Regions from separate parts of the Homo sapiens genome. Here all the other regions are linked to region 3. Evidence: promoter capture Hi-C in human tissues and cell types (Jung and others, 2019). All regions are on one chromosome and are shown on one strand. The core of a region is centred on a gene start or on the middle of the fragment in contact, and the rest is flanking DNA. Distances in the headings are between cores, read along the strand shown.

The links. Contacts are between HindIII fragments. The study calls those that stand out against the background at their distance.
Region 1: a contact is called between a fragment that was not itself captured here and the fragment with the promoter of CARD14 in region 3, in 5 of the 25 tissues and cell types used here (bladder, lymphoblastoid cells, mesendoderm cells and 2 more).
Region 2: a fragment that was not itself captured here is called in contact with the fragment with the promoter of CARD14 in region 3 in 1 of the 25 tissues and cell types used here (spleen).

The regions. Positions count from the first base shown.
Region 1 is chr17:80,227,166-80,231,774 of GRCh38, forward strand. It overlaps SLC26A11 (solute carrier family 26 member 11), which reads left to right. Exons shown (of 18, transcript NM_001166347.2): 7 at 653-795. Among named protein-coding and RNA genes, the nearest start is that of SLC26A11, 9.0 kb to the left of the region's middle. The HindIII fragment of the contact is 6,759 bases long and covers 1-4,609 here.
Region 2 is chr17:80,210,429-80,213,565 of GRCh38, forward strand. It overlaps SGSH (N-sulfoglucosamine sulfohydrolase), which reads right to left. Exons shown (of 8, transcript NM_000199.5): 7 at 1,643-1,846; 8 at 1-583. The coding sequence ends at 24. Among named protein-coding and RNA genes, the nearest start is that of SGSH, 8.3 kb to the right of the region's middle. The HindIII fragment of the contact is 4,264 bases long and covers 1-3,137 here.
Region 3 is chr17:80,167,880-80,172,322 of GRCh38, forward strand. CARD14 (caspase recruitment domain family member 14) reads left to right here and starts at 2,151. Exons shown (of 24, transcript NM_001366385.1): 1 at 2,151-2,177. The HindIII fragment of the contact is 21,960 bases long and covers 1-4,443 here.

The DNA.
Region 1 (4,609 bases), core at 1,531-4,030, 60 kb after region 3:
ATACACTAATGATAGCTGATGAGCTACAAAAAAATCATTGAAAGAACTCATAATGTTTTAAGAAAGTTTACAAATTTGTGTTGGGCCACATTCAAAGCCATCCCAGGCTGCACATGGCCCACAGGCTGTGGGTTTGGCAGACTTGTTCTAGAGCCACCTGCAGAGAGCATCAGCTGCTCAGGCTGGTCCCCATTCCCTGTGGTCACTCACCAGATCCTGTTCCATAGACTTGAGTCCCAGAGAGCTACGGGAGTGAAAATGTGAGCACGTCGCTCTGCCATCATCATGACCCGGGCCTCTCCACTGCCTGTCCTGCCCAAGCCTGTGTACTTACTGAATTTTGAATTGAGTTTTGAAGTAGAACAGGGATGCATATTGCTTAGGAGAAAACATCTCAGCCTAGTCTGTGTTTGGTCTTGCAGAGTAGCTTGCTAAAGTTCCTGAGCTTTAGTTAAGTGTCTGTGAAATGGTGAAAATATTGAAAATGCTTTATTTCCTTGTGATACTCACTGTGGTCTGGGACCAGCAGCCTGGGCATTGGGCCTCCCTGGGAGCTTCTTAGTGCCTCTCAGCTTAAGCAGCAGCAGGATGCTTGAGTCAGCAGTAGGCCTGGGCCGAGCTGGGTGGTGACCAGTCCTCTGCCTGTCCACAGGGTAGGTGACGCCGTCCTGGGGCTGGTCTGCATGCTGCTGCTGCTGGTGCTGAAGCTGATGCGGGACCACGTGCCTCCCGTCCACCCCGAGATGCCCCCTGGTGTGCGGCTCAGCCGTGGGCTGGTCTGGGCTGCCACGACAGGTGAGGGGCCTCTGGCTGACATCTTATGCAACCTTGGCTGCAGGTTGGGGTCACTTGGGGAGTCCTAGTCCCACCCTAGGGATTCTCACGTCATTGGTCTGGGTGTCACTTGAGCATTGGGACATTTAAAACACCACACCAAACTCTGGGACATGTACTTTTTATTTAATTAATTAATTAATTATTTTTTGAGACAGAGTTTCGCTCTGTCGCCCAGGCTGGAGTACAGTGGTGTGATATTGGCTCACTGCAACCTCCGCCTCCCAGGTTCATGTGATTCTCCTGCCTCAGCCTCCTGAGTAGCTGGGATTACAGGCGCATGCCACCACGCTCGACTGATTTTTGTATTTATAGTAGAGACGGGGTTTCACCATGTTGACCATACTGGTCTCAAACTCCTGACCTCGAGTGATCTGCCTGCCTCGGCCTCCCGAAGTGCTGGGATTACAGGCATGAGCCACCGCCCCGACCCAAACTCTAGAACATTTAAAACTCTGAGCCAAACTCGGTGGGTTCTGATGCAGGGTCAGAGCTGAGAACTGATGCATGGCCAGCTGTGGCCGTTCTCAACCTGAAGCAGTTTTGCCCCCTGGTGACACGTGGCAATGTTGGGAAACATTTTTGGTGGATACCACCGGGCGAGGCAGTTGCTGGCAACTAGCGAGGAGGGGCCAGGAATGCCACTAAGCCCCTGACGGCGCACAGCCTTCCACAGCAAACAGTGATCCGGCCCAAAATGTCGGCGGTGCCGAGGTGGAGAAACACAGTCTACTGGCAGGTCCTGGGGAGACAGAACAAATTCCGGGGAGACCAACAGGCTCTGTTTGAATTGTGCAGCTTTATGGGGGTACAACTTCAGCTTCAGGCGCGGAGGCTGCAGGCTGAGCCACAACCAACCAGGGGTCCTTTGAGAAAGGGGTGGTGAGGGCTGCGTCGTGGAGGAGCAGGGCTGTCAGCAGGTGAAGGACCACCCTGGGGGAGGTGGAAGCCTCTTCTCAGTGCATCCGGGATGGGCATGGGTCCCCTGGCTGAGCACCGGGCAGGGATGCCCAGAGAAGAAGGCACACCCAGGAAAGTCAGGAAGCATAGGTGACTCCAAACCTTCTCAGAGCCGAGGGGACAGATTAAGCTCAGAATAACCCGAGCTTGGTCTTGCTGTTTGGGGGCTGCAAAATCCAACAGCCACAGAAGAGAGAGGGTGGCTGGATTTAGCTCTTGAGTCACTTCTGCCTGCCCAGGCTGGTCTGTTCTCTGTGGTCTCTCCCTGGATCCTGTTCAGCAGACTTGAGGCCGTGGTGAACACTGAGAGTCTGGTGGGGTGCAGAGGATGCTGGGTTTAGAGTGGAGATGTCCAGCTTCCAGTCCCAGCCTGGCCTGGGTTTAGACTTGCAAAGTAGCTTCCAAAGTTCCTGAGCTTTAGTTCAGTTGTCCGTGAAATAGTGAAAATGCTTTGTTATCTTTGTTATCTTTTGTTTTTTGGTTTTTTTTGGAGACGGTGTCTCACTCTGTTGCCCAGGCTGGAGTGCACTGGCGTGATCTTGGCTCACTGCAACCTGCCTCCTGGTTTCAAGCAATTATCCCGCCTCAGCCTCGCGAGTAGCTGGGATTACAGGCGTGCACCACCACACCTGGCTAATTTTTGTATTTTGAGTAGAGATGGGGTTTCACCATGTTGGCCAGGCTGGTCTCGAACTCCTGACCTCAAGTGATCCGCCCGCCTCAGCCTCCCAAAGTGCTGAGATTATAGGCGTGAGCCACTGCGCCTGGCCTATGCCTTGTTATCTTAAACCTTGAGACTCAGAGTGTGGCCTGGGACCAGCAGCCTGGGCACTGGGCATCTCCTGGGAGCTTACTGGAAAGGCAGGATCTCAGGCCCCACCCCAGATCTCCGAATCAGGATCTGTATTCTTCAGGGCACGCCCAGGGGATTCATGGGGTCAGCTTAGAAGTCAAAGTTTGGAAGCCGGGCATGGTGGCTCACGCCTGTAATCCCAGCACTTTGGGAGGCCGAGGGAGGCAGATCACCTGAGGTCAGGAGTTTGAAACCAGCTTGGCCAAACCCCGTCTCTACTAAAAATACAAAAATTAGCTGGGTGTGGTGGTGTGTGCCTGTGATCCCAGCTACTTGGGAGGCTGAGGCAGGAGAATCACTTGAACCCGGGAGGCGGAGGTTATAGTGAGCCAAGACTGCACCACTGCACTCCAGCCTGGCAACAGAGCGAGACTCCTTCTCAAAAAAAAAAAAAAAAAAAGTCAAAGTTTGGGAAATGCTTAGAGACCCCATGTTTTTCAGAGACTTGTTTTGTATGACTTTATGAGATGATCAGGCAGGTGTGGCCACAAGGGGAGACAGCGAAAGGCTCAGGAAGAAAACCAGTTTATTATACTCACAGGTCCTAGAGACAGGAGGCACAGCATGCCACGTAGGGCCATGTCAGAGGACACCAGGGTGGCCAGGAGGAGAAGCCAAAGCTGTGGTTTAGGCCACAGCCTTTATCGAGATTTTCTTGATAAAGGCAAGGTGAAGAAAGGCGACCAGCTTAGGACTTGCAGTTGGAGGAATTTTGGTGGGTTTCAGGCTTAAGGCAGAAAAATCTTGCCTCCTGGGGTGCAGGCCAGGCTGGTGGAGGAAGGATGGCTCCAGAGGGGTTAGCTGGCATATCAGAGACACACTTGGGGCTGCTTTTTTCTCTAGTACTTGCCTAACCCTGAAGGCAGTGTCTCCGCAGCCAGAAAGGTCTTTTAAGATGTCTAGACATCGTAATGTACAGAAACTTCAGAAACATTTACAGTGTAGGGCTGCTGACTCCTTTCTCCCCAGTGTGTGTAGCATTGTCTTAGGAAACTACTTAAAAAGCTTTTGATTCTTATAACAGCTTTGAGAATGAGTTTATTATTTTTTCCATTTTGTCAGTGAGGAAAGTGAGCCTATGAAAGATGAAAAATAAAACAGAACTTCTCAAGGCCACACGACTGGGAAGAGGCAGAACAAGGACTTCACCCGAGTCGTCTGTCTTTTTTTCTGAATGGTCTGTCTAGAAGTGTGTCAATGTTATGATCCTCTCAAAGAACCACCTTTGGTTTCATTGATCTCCCTTTTGCTTTGGTTTTCTAGTTCATTGATTTCTGCTTGGGCCTTTATTATTTCCTTTCTTCTATTTATTTTCAGTTAACTTTATCCTTTTTTTTTTTTTTTTTCAAAAAAAATTTTTTTTTTTTGAGACGGAGTTTCGCTCTTGTCCCCCAGGTTGGAGTGCAATGGTGTGATCTCAGCTCACTGCAACCTCCGCCTCCCGGGTTCAAGTGATTCTCCTGCCTCAGCCTCCCAAGTAGCTGGGATTACAGGCGTATGCCACCATGCCTGGCTAATTTTTTGTATTTTTAGTGGAGACGGGGTTTCACCATGTTGGCCAGGCTGGTCTCGAACTCCTGAACTCAGGTGATCCACCCGCCTCAGCCTCCCAAAGTGCTGGGATTACAGGCGTGAGCCACTGTGCCCGGCCTTTTTTTTCAGATTCTTAAGGTGGAAGCCTGGATCTTTGATTTGAGACCTTTCTTCTTTTCTAATATGGTTGTTTAAATGCTGTAAATTTCACTCCTAGCATTACTTTAGCTGCATCCCACAGTTTTTATATATATGCTGTTCTTTAATTTTTATTCGGTTCTAAATACTTTGTGATTTCCATTTTGACTTCTCCTTTGACCTGTGGATTATTTAGAAGTGGATTATATGATTTCTTCTGTGAACCATGGGAGTTATTTAGTTTCCAAATAGTTGGGGGTTTCCCAATTAGTACTTTGCCATTGATTTCTA
Region 2 (3,137 bases), core at 1-2,500, 42 kb after region 3:
TGTGCACAGGCCTCCTGGGATGGTCACAGCTCATTGTGGAGGGGCTGGCACTGGGGAGAGAGCTTCTCCTCCAGGACGCCGTCGGGGGCGCACACCCAGGGGTCGTGGGTCTCCCACTGCCACTTGGCCAGCTGGTCCCGAAGCATCTCCAGAAGCTGAGCAAAGCGCGGGTCGGTGGCCAGGTTCTGGGTCTCGTGGGGGTCCCGGCTCCGGTCGTAGAGCTCCCAGCGCGCCCGGTAGTAGTAATGACGGAGGTCCTTGTACCAGCCCGTGGGCTGACCAGCTGTGGTGCGGTTCAGGAGGTCCTGGAAGGTGGGTGAGACGTAGAAGTCCTGGTCGATGGGAAAGGGCATCTTGAAGTTGAGGTTGTGCACGAGGCGGAAGTGCCGGTGCTGCACGGAGCGCATGGGGTAGGACATGGTGACCTCGTGGTGGCTCTGGCTGCCAAAGACGGTGGCCCAGAGGGGCTCGGCCTCCAGCGCCGGCAGGAGGGACCGGCCAGTGAGGTGGATGGTCTTCGAGCCAAAGATGGCGTAGCTGGGGTACGGGATCGAGAACCAATCCAAGATGGTGGGCGTGAGGTCTGGAAGGGACGCGGCATCTCAGAGCAGCAGAGCCCTCAGCACACAGGAGCTGCCCTCGGAAGGGCCGAACCTACGCCACTCTGGGCGGCTCCCTTCTCCAATCCAATCAGCAGCGGGAGGTGCCTTGTCGAGCCGACACCTCTCACCGCCACGTCATCTCTCTGGGCCTCAGTGCCTTGAATGGTATAACAAGAGGCCCTGATTCGGTGACATTTAGGATCCTTCTAAAATCCCATGGACTGGAAAAGAAGTCTCCTTTTTGGTAGCTCGTGTACTCCAGCCCCTGTGGTGGGTGTGGCCACAGTGCTCCTGGCTCATCATTTGGGGCCAGAGAGAGATGTGGGCCCCAAGAGAGATGTGGGCCGCGAGCTCGGAGGGAAAGGGAACCTGAGTTTCCTGCTGTCCCGGGCCCACCCCACCTGGAGGCTCTGCCAGGCAGTGGGCAGGACACACGAGCCTCTGCCCTGTGCCGAAGGGGTCACCCCGAGCCCCTCACAAAGTCTTCCTGCACCCGTGTCTTTGTCTGCACATCCATAACATGGGACTAGATGTCCTAGGTCTTTTTAGGAATGAGCAGGGTCATGAGGTGCTTTGGGTCCCCCAGGAAGGCAGGATGGGGTGCACGGATGCTCAGAGAGGGGTCCCCAGGCCCACAGTATCGGCATCACCTGGGAACTTGTCAGACATGCAAATTCTTGAGCCCGCCAAGATCTACTGAATCGGACACCCTGGGATTTGCAATTTGGATATTAACAAGCATCCCAGGTGATTCTGAAGCTCATCGGAGGTAGGCGGGGAAAAGGCAATGGTTTTGAAAGCAGCAGGATCCAGGCGAGAATCCTAGCTTAGTGCTTACCAGCTGTGCAATCCTGAGCAGCTTACTTCACCTCTCTGAGCCTCATTCTTTTCCTCTGTAGAGTGGGAGTGACAGTCCCTTCCTCACCCAGATGATATGAGAGCCACATTAGGTAATGGGTGTGGAGCAGCATCTGACAGGTCATGGCCCCGTCCCAGATCCACTCCCACACCTTTCCTGACGGAGACAGACAAAGGCATACCTAGGAGGCTCACGTAGGCCTCGCTGACTTGGCCCCAGCGTTTTGGGTGCTCCGGGGATGACACCAGTAAGGGTTCAGCAGTGCCCGGCCAGTACAGGTTGGTCCTGCCGCTGGGGAAGGGGATCCCGTTGTCGGACGTGAAGATCACCAGTGTGTCGTTCAGGACACCGGCGTCACGCAGCTCCTGGAGCACCAGTCCAACTCCTGTGGTGAGGGGCCGAGAAGCAGAGCTCAGCCGCAGACACGGAGGGAGGCAGCGGGTGGTGTGTGTAGACCCACCTGCTGCTGCATCCGGCCGCTGGGCTCCAGCGCTTTCCGGATTCGAAAGCACCCTGTAGTTCTTCCCAATGGCCCTGGCTCTTGCCCAGCTCTTGCCCAGCTCCGCCCAGCTCCCATTCCCTGAGCAGGCCTCGAATGGGCCTCCAGGGACTCCAGCCATCCCTTGGCACTTCTGTGTCACCCCCAGGCAGCTGCTCCCTGGTGCCCGCCGGCTTTTGAGTTCTCCGGAATCTCGTGTCTGTCCCATGGAGCAAATAGGGCAGGGGCCAGAGGACGAGGCTTCCTCTATACTCGCTCCTTCCCAGCTGGGGCCAGAGGACAAGGCTTCCTCTATACCCGCTCCTTCCCAGCTCACTAAGAATTAATGGCACCAATAGGGAAATGGCAAAGGTCCTGACCTCCTGTCGTCCCTGACCCCAAAAGACATGTGTGCTGGAATCTGTGAAGGGGTTCTTGTTTGGAAAGGGGAACTTCACGAATAAAGATCTTGGGACAAAATCATCCTGAAGTGCTCAGGTAGGCCCTAAACCCGACGGGGTCCTTATAAGAAGCGGAAACAGGCCGGGCGCGGTGCCTCACACCTGTAATCCCAGCACTTTGGGAGGCTGAGGTGGGCGGATCACGAGGTCAGGAGTTCAAGACCAGCCTGGCCAATGTGGTGAAACCCCGTCTCTACTAAAAATATAAAAATTAGCTGGGCATGGTGGCGTGCGGTGCGATTGCAGTCCTAGCTACTTTGGAGGCTGAGACAGAAAAATCGCTCGAACCTGGGAGGTGGTGGTTGTAGTGAGCCGAGATTGCGCCACTGCACTCCCGCGTGGGTGACAGAGCAAGACTCAGTCTCAAAAAAAAAAAAAAAGAAGAAGTGGAGACACAAAGAGGAGACACAGGAAAAAAGGCCATGTGAAGGCTTCAGCGGGGATGGGGGCGATTCTGCCGCCAGCCCAGGAACGCCCAGCACTGGCACAGCCCCCAGAAGTTGGAAGAGGAAAGGCAGGGTCTCCCCTAGGCCTTCAGGGGAGCATGGCCCTGCTGACACCTTGATTTCAAACTTCTGGCCTCCTGAACTGTGGGAGTACAAATTTTGGTTGCTGTAAGCCATCAACCACAAAAAACTCACAGACCTCAAGATCTCCATCTGCATATGCTAAGGAACTCCAAACCCCCAAATCTGACCCAGGTCCTGTGACTGGAAATATCTGAAGTCTTCACGCAA
Region 3 (4,443 bases), core at 901-3,400:
CAGGGTCTTCCTGTGTTGCCCAGGCTGGTCTCGAACTCTTGGCCTCAAGCAATCCTCCCTCCTCAGCCTCTCAATGCACTGGGGTTACAGGCATGAGCCACTGCACCTAGCCTAAGATATGGTTTTTGACCTCAGAAAACACAGGGTCCTTCAGGGTTGTGGCTTCCTTGACTGTTTCTTTTTATTTTATTTTATTTTAGGTTCCGGGATACATGTGCAGAATGTGCAGGTTTGTTACATAAGTAGACATGTGCCATGGTGGTTTGCTACACCTGTCAACCCATCACCTAGGTTTTAAGCCCCACGTGCATTAGCTATTTGTCCTGATGCTCTCCCTCCACTCCCCCTACCATAGGCCCCAGTGTGTGTTGTTCCCCTCCCTGTGTCCATGTGTTCTCATTGTTCAGCTCCCACTTATGAGTGAGAACATGCAGTGTTTGGGTTTCTGTTCCCATGTTAGTTTGCTGAGAATGATGGCTTCCAGCTTCATCCATGTCTCTGCAAAGGCCCTTCATTCCTTTCTATGGCTGCACCTTGACTATTTCTATGGCTATTTCTGTTCTTAGGGAGGCTCCTCCCATCTCCAGTGCATTCTTCTGCCCCCCTCTTTTACTGGGAATGGCGGCATTTCTTTGCGTTTTCTGTAACTAGAATTCTCTGTGTGGCTGGCACAGTGTGATGAGCTGGCAAGCTTCCCCACTGTGGGGGAGGGCTTATCATGAGGTCTGCTGGAGGAAACTAAGAGAGCTGAGCCTTAGGGGCTTAAATGAACTGCCTGAGGGGAAGCTGACACCCAGTGGGGCTGTAACCCTGGTTGGAGAGTTCATGTCTGCACCTGGCCTCGGCCTGCGTTCTCACTTGCTCTGCCCAACTGGCTGTGCCTTCAGCCGGCTCATCACCAGGAGATTTGGGTTGGAGCTACTGCTCAGCCACCATGAGCTACATGACCTTGAAGGCCGATCTTTGATTGTCCGCAGGATAATCCTGAAGGTTCTCAGGCCATGGACCTGTGAATTTCCCTTCTTTCAGTGTCTGCATCATTGGGAACCAAGCCCCTAACCAATGTTTATTCATTCGCTCAACCAATATTTGTGGAATATCACAGCCCTAGGGGTGGGGACACAGCAGGGAACAAGAAAGACAAGAATTATTGTCCTCAGTAGGTTACTGTGGAGTGGGGAGGCTGGCAGGAAGCCACGTAACTAGAATACACGTTAGGTCAAGGCAGTATTCCCACAGAGAAGATGGAACAGGGAAGGGGAGTGAAGGCCAGGATGGGAGGTCTACGGACTTAAGTAGGATGATCTGGGAAGTAGCATTTGAGTAGAGTCTGGAAGGAGGGATGGGAAAGAGTGTTCCAGGCAGTGGGAACAGCAGGTGCAAAGGCCCTGGGGCAGAAGTGTGCCTGGACTGTCAAGACTGTTGGGCTGTGTGTCTGGAGCAGGTAAAAGAGAGATAAGGTCAGCAAGGACCTGATAAGCAGAGCCTCATGGTCACGCTGAGGACTCCAGGACCTGTACACCGAAGGGAATGACAGGAGCTGACTCATGCCCTAGCAGGACTTCTCTGTCTGCTGTGTTGAGCGCTGGTGATGGGGGCGTGGGAAGAAGTTAGGAGCCATTACAGAGGTCCCGGTGGGCCATGATCAGGACACCACAATGCAGGTGGTGAGAATGGATCGGATTCTAGACATATCTCAAGGTGGAGGACCAAGACTTTCATCTAAATCTAAACAATAGTTATGAAATGTTAACTTGAGATGGATCTATTGGAATTATTCAGATACTTCCAATAATGGATCATGAGAACCAAGAAAGGCCCTAGAATTTATCCTGATCTTCGTAGGATTTTCCCAAGGGTAGAAATGATGATGAACTGGGTGACCGTTCACAAAGGAGAGAGGATTCCCAGCCCCCAAGCCTGAAGCCTTCCCCTCAATCACCCTCAATCACCATCTTCTGTGGGTCGACCAGATGCACGGACTGTTCTCAGCCATCCCTGTGGTTCTTACGGCAATGTCTAGCTGTGGGACTGCACTGGTGCTTCGATGGCTCATAGAAGCCCCATATAAGGCACTGCTCCTGTGGGATGTGCCTGTCAAACCTGCTTGTCCACTGCCGTTCAGTTCAGCCAGAGATTGGGCCACATTCAGTCCTCGCTTCCCTGGGAGGGGGAAGGTAAGTGCGCGCAGTCCATCCGGCGAAGAGCAGGTCAGCCTACGGAGGGCTCAGCCTACGGAGGGGCTCAGCCGACACAGGTCTGATGGGGCCCGAGAGTGGTCCCAGGGGAGTGGGAGGGGCCGGCATCTTCCTCATCAGGAGTGGAGGAGCTGCCTTGTATGTGGACTAGAGAACAGAAAACGGCTTGTCTGTGTTGCTGGGTCAATCACTGGAACATTCTCTGAATGCTGAGTTCTGCCTTAAAACAGCATGGGTCATGCTAGATGAAAGGGATCTCTGTTTTATACTCTCATCTCTTCGCTATTGCCGTGGGATGAAAGACAGCAGAAGGAAGGTGTCTAAGTTCAGAACAAAGTGAGCAAGACCAGCTGGCTGCTGTTGGTAGCAGAGGCACAGCCAGCCTGTCATGGCACTGGGGGGCCGAGGTGAGCTGTGCCCCCTCCTCCTGGGCTTGTGACCCTCTGCCCCCCATGGGGTATGTACATGTGTGTGTGTGCGTGTGCGTGTGTGTATGTGTACATGCCTTCTTCCCTACTTCACTGGCAAGGGAAGAGACTGACACTTGGGTTAGGAGAAGGATGTTGACCTGGGAGGGGTCAAATAAGGAGAACCCACATCTTAGATGCTCAGGATTTTATGATCTTAGGCTCTTCTAGAATTGCTGTACAGTTAGATTCAGAGTTTGGAATTAGAGATCTCTGGGCCCTCCCCTCCCCTCCCGTCCCCTCCCCTCCCGTCCCCTCCCCTCCTCTCCCCTCCCCTCCTCTCCCCTCTCCTCCCCTCCCCTCTTCTCTCCTTTTTCAGAAGTCTCCCTCTGTCGCCCAGGCTAGAGTTGCAGTGGCACAATCTCGGCTCACTGCAATTTCTGCCTCCTGGGTTCAGGTGATTCTCCTGCCTCAGTCTCCCAAGTAGCTGGGACTATAGGTGCACGCCACCACACCTGGTTAATTTTTTTATTTTTAGTAGAGACAGGGTTTTGTCACGTTGGCTAGGCTGGTCTCAAACTCCTGACTTCAGGTAATCCGCCCATCTTGGTCTCCCAAAGTGCTGGGATTACGGGCGTGAGCCACGGCTCCTGGCGCCTTCCCATTCACCTTCCCCTTCCCCTCCCCTTCCTCCCTCCCTCCCTCCCTCCCTCCCTCCCTCCCTTCCTTCCTTCCTTCCTTCCTTCCTTCCTTCCTTCCTTCTCTCTCTCCTTCCCTTCCTTCCTCTCTCTTTCTTTTCTTCTTTTCTTTCTTTCTTTCTCTCTCTCTCTCTTTCTTTCTTTTCCTTTTTTTGAGCCAGGGTCTTGCTCTGTCACCCAGGCTGGAGGGCAGTGGCACAATCATAGCTCACTGCAGCCTTGAACTCTTGAGCTCAAGCAATCCTCCTGCCTTGGCCTCCAAAGTGCTGGGATTACAGGCCTGAGCCACTGTGCCCAGCCCTAAGGTTTTTTGTTTTGTTTTGTTTTGTTTTACTGTTAGGACTAACCCTTATTTACACTGGGACAAGTTACAAAGAAACTCCTGCAATTGTTAACTGCCATTGGAGACTACTGTAAGTTGCTTCATGGCAACTGCAGAAGGGACTAGTGACTTCTATTTAGCTCCACCCACTGATGCTTGAAGTTCAGTGTGGCTCTGGGGGCTCCAGAAGCCTGAGGGGCAGCTGGCTGGGGCAGTTGGCTGGGGTCTGGAGAGTTCTGCAGAGCCCCTGTCTTCAGCTGCTGGTGAGGCAGCTTTGGCTTGAGCTGCCCTGGCTTTCTGAGTTCAGTCTGATGGGAGGGCACAGTCAGCACCCTCAGACCCTCCTCAGGAGTCTTGTGAGGCTCGGGCAAGTCAGGGGCAGAGGGACAATCCAACTAGAGGACCCTCCCAGACCCGGTCGTTGCCACCTGGACCCAGCCCCAGGAAGGCACCCGAGAAACCTGTAGTCCTCGGCTGACCACCAGTCCTGGTCCTCAGGATATCCGCAGAGACCTGGCTGTCCAGAACTCCCAGGGTTTCAGCTGCAAGCTGGAGATGTGGCCCCTTGGCAACTCGATATAGTAAGATACTGGAGAGCGTGCCAGAGTGTCATTTGCTAGAAACAAACATTATACTGCGGTAAGCCCTAGTTTTTCAGTCATTGGCTCTTTGGCACCAACTTAATCACAAGGCCATTGGCCCCAAAGAAAGGCCTTGTAGGCGACTGTTTAGGGACACCTGTATTTTCCATCTGCCTTGGAACCTCTAGGCTCAGGCCGAATGCCTATTGAAGTAGATGTTTCGTAAGAGATTTGGGG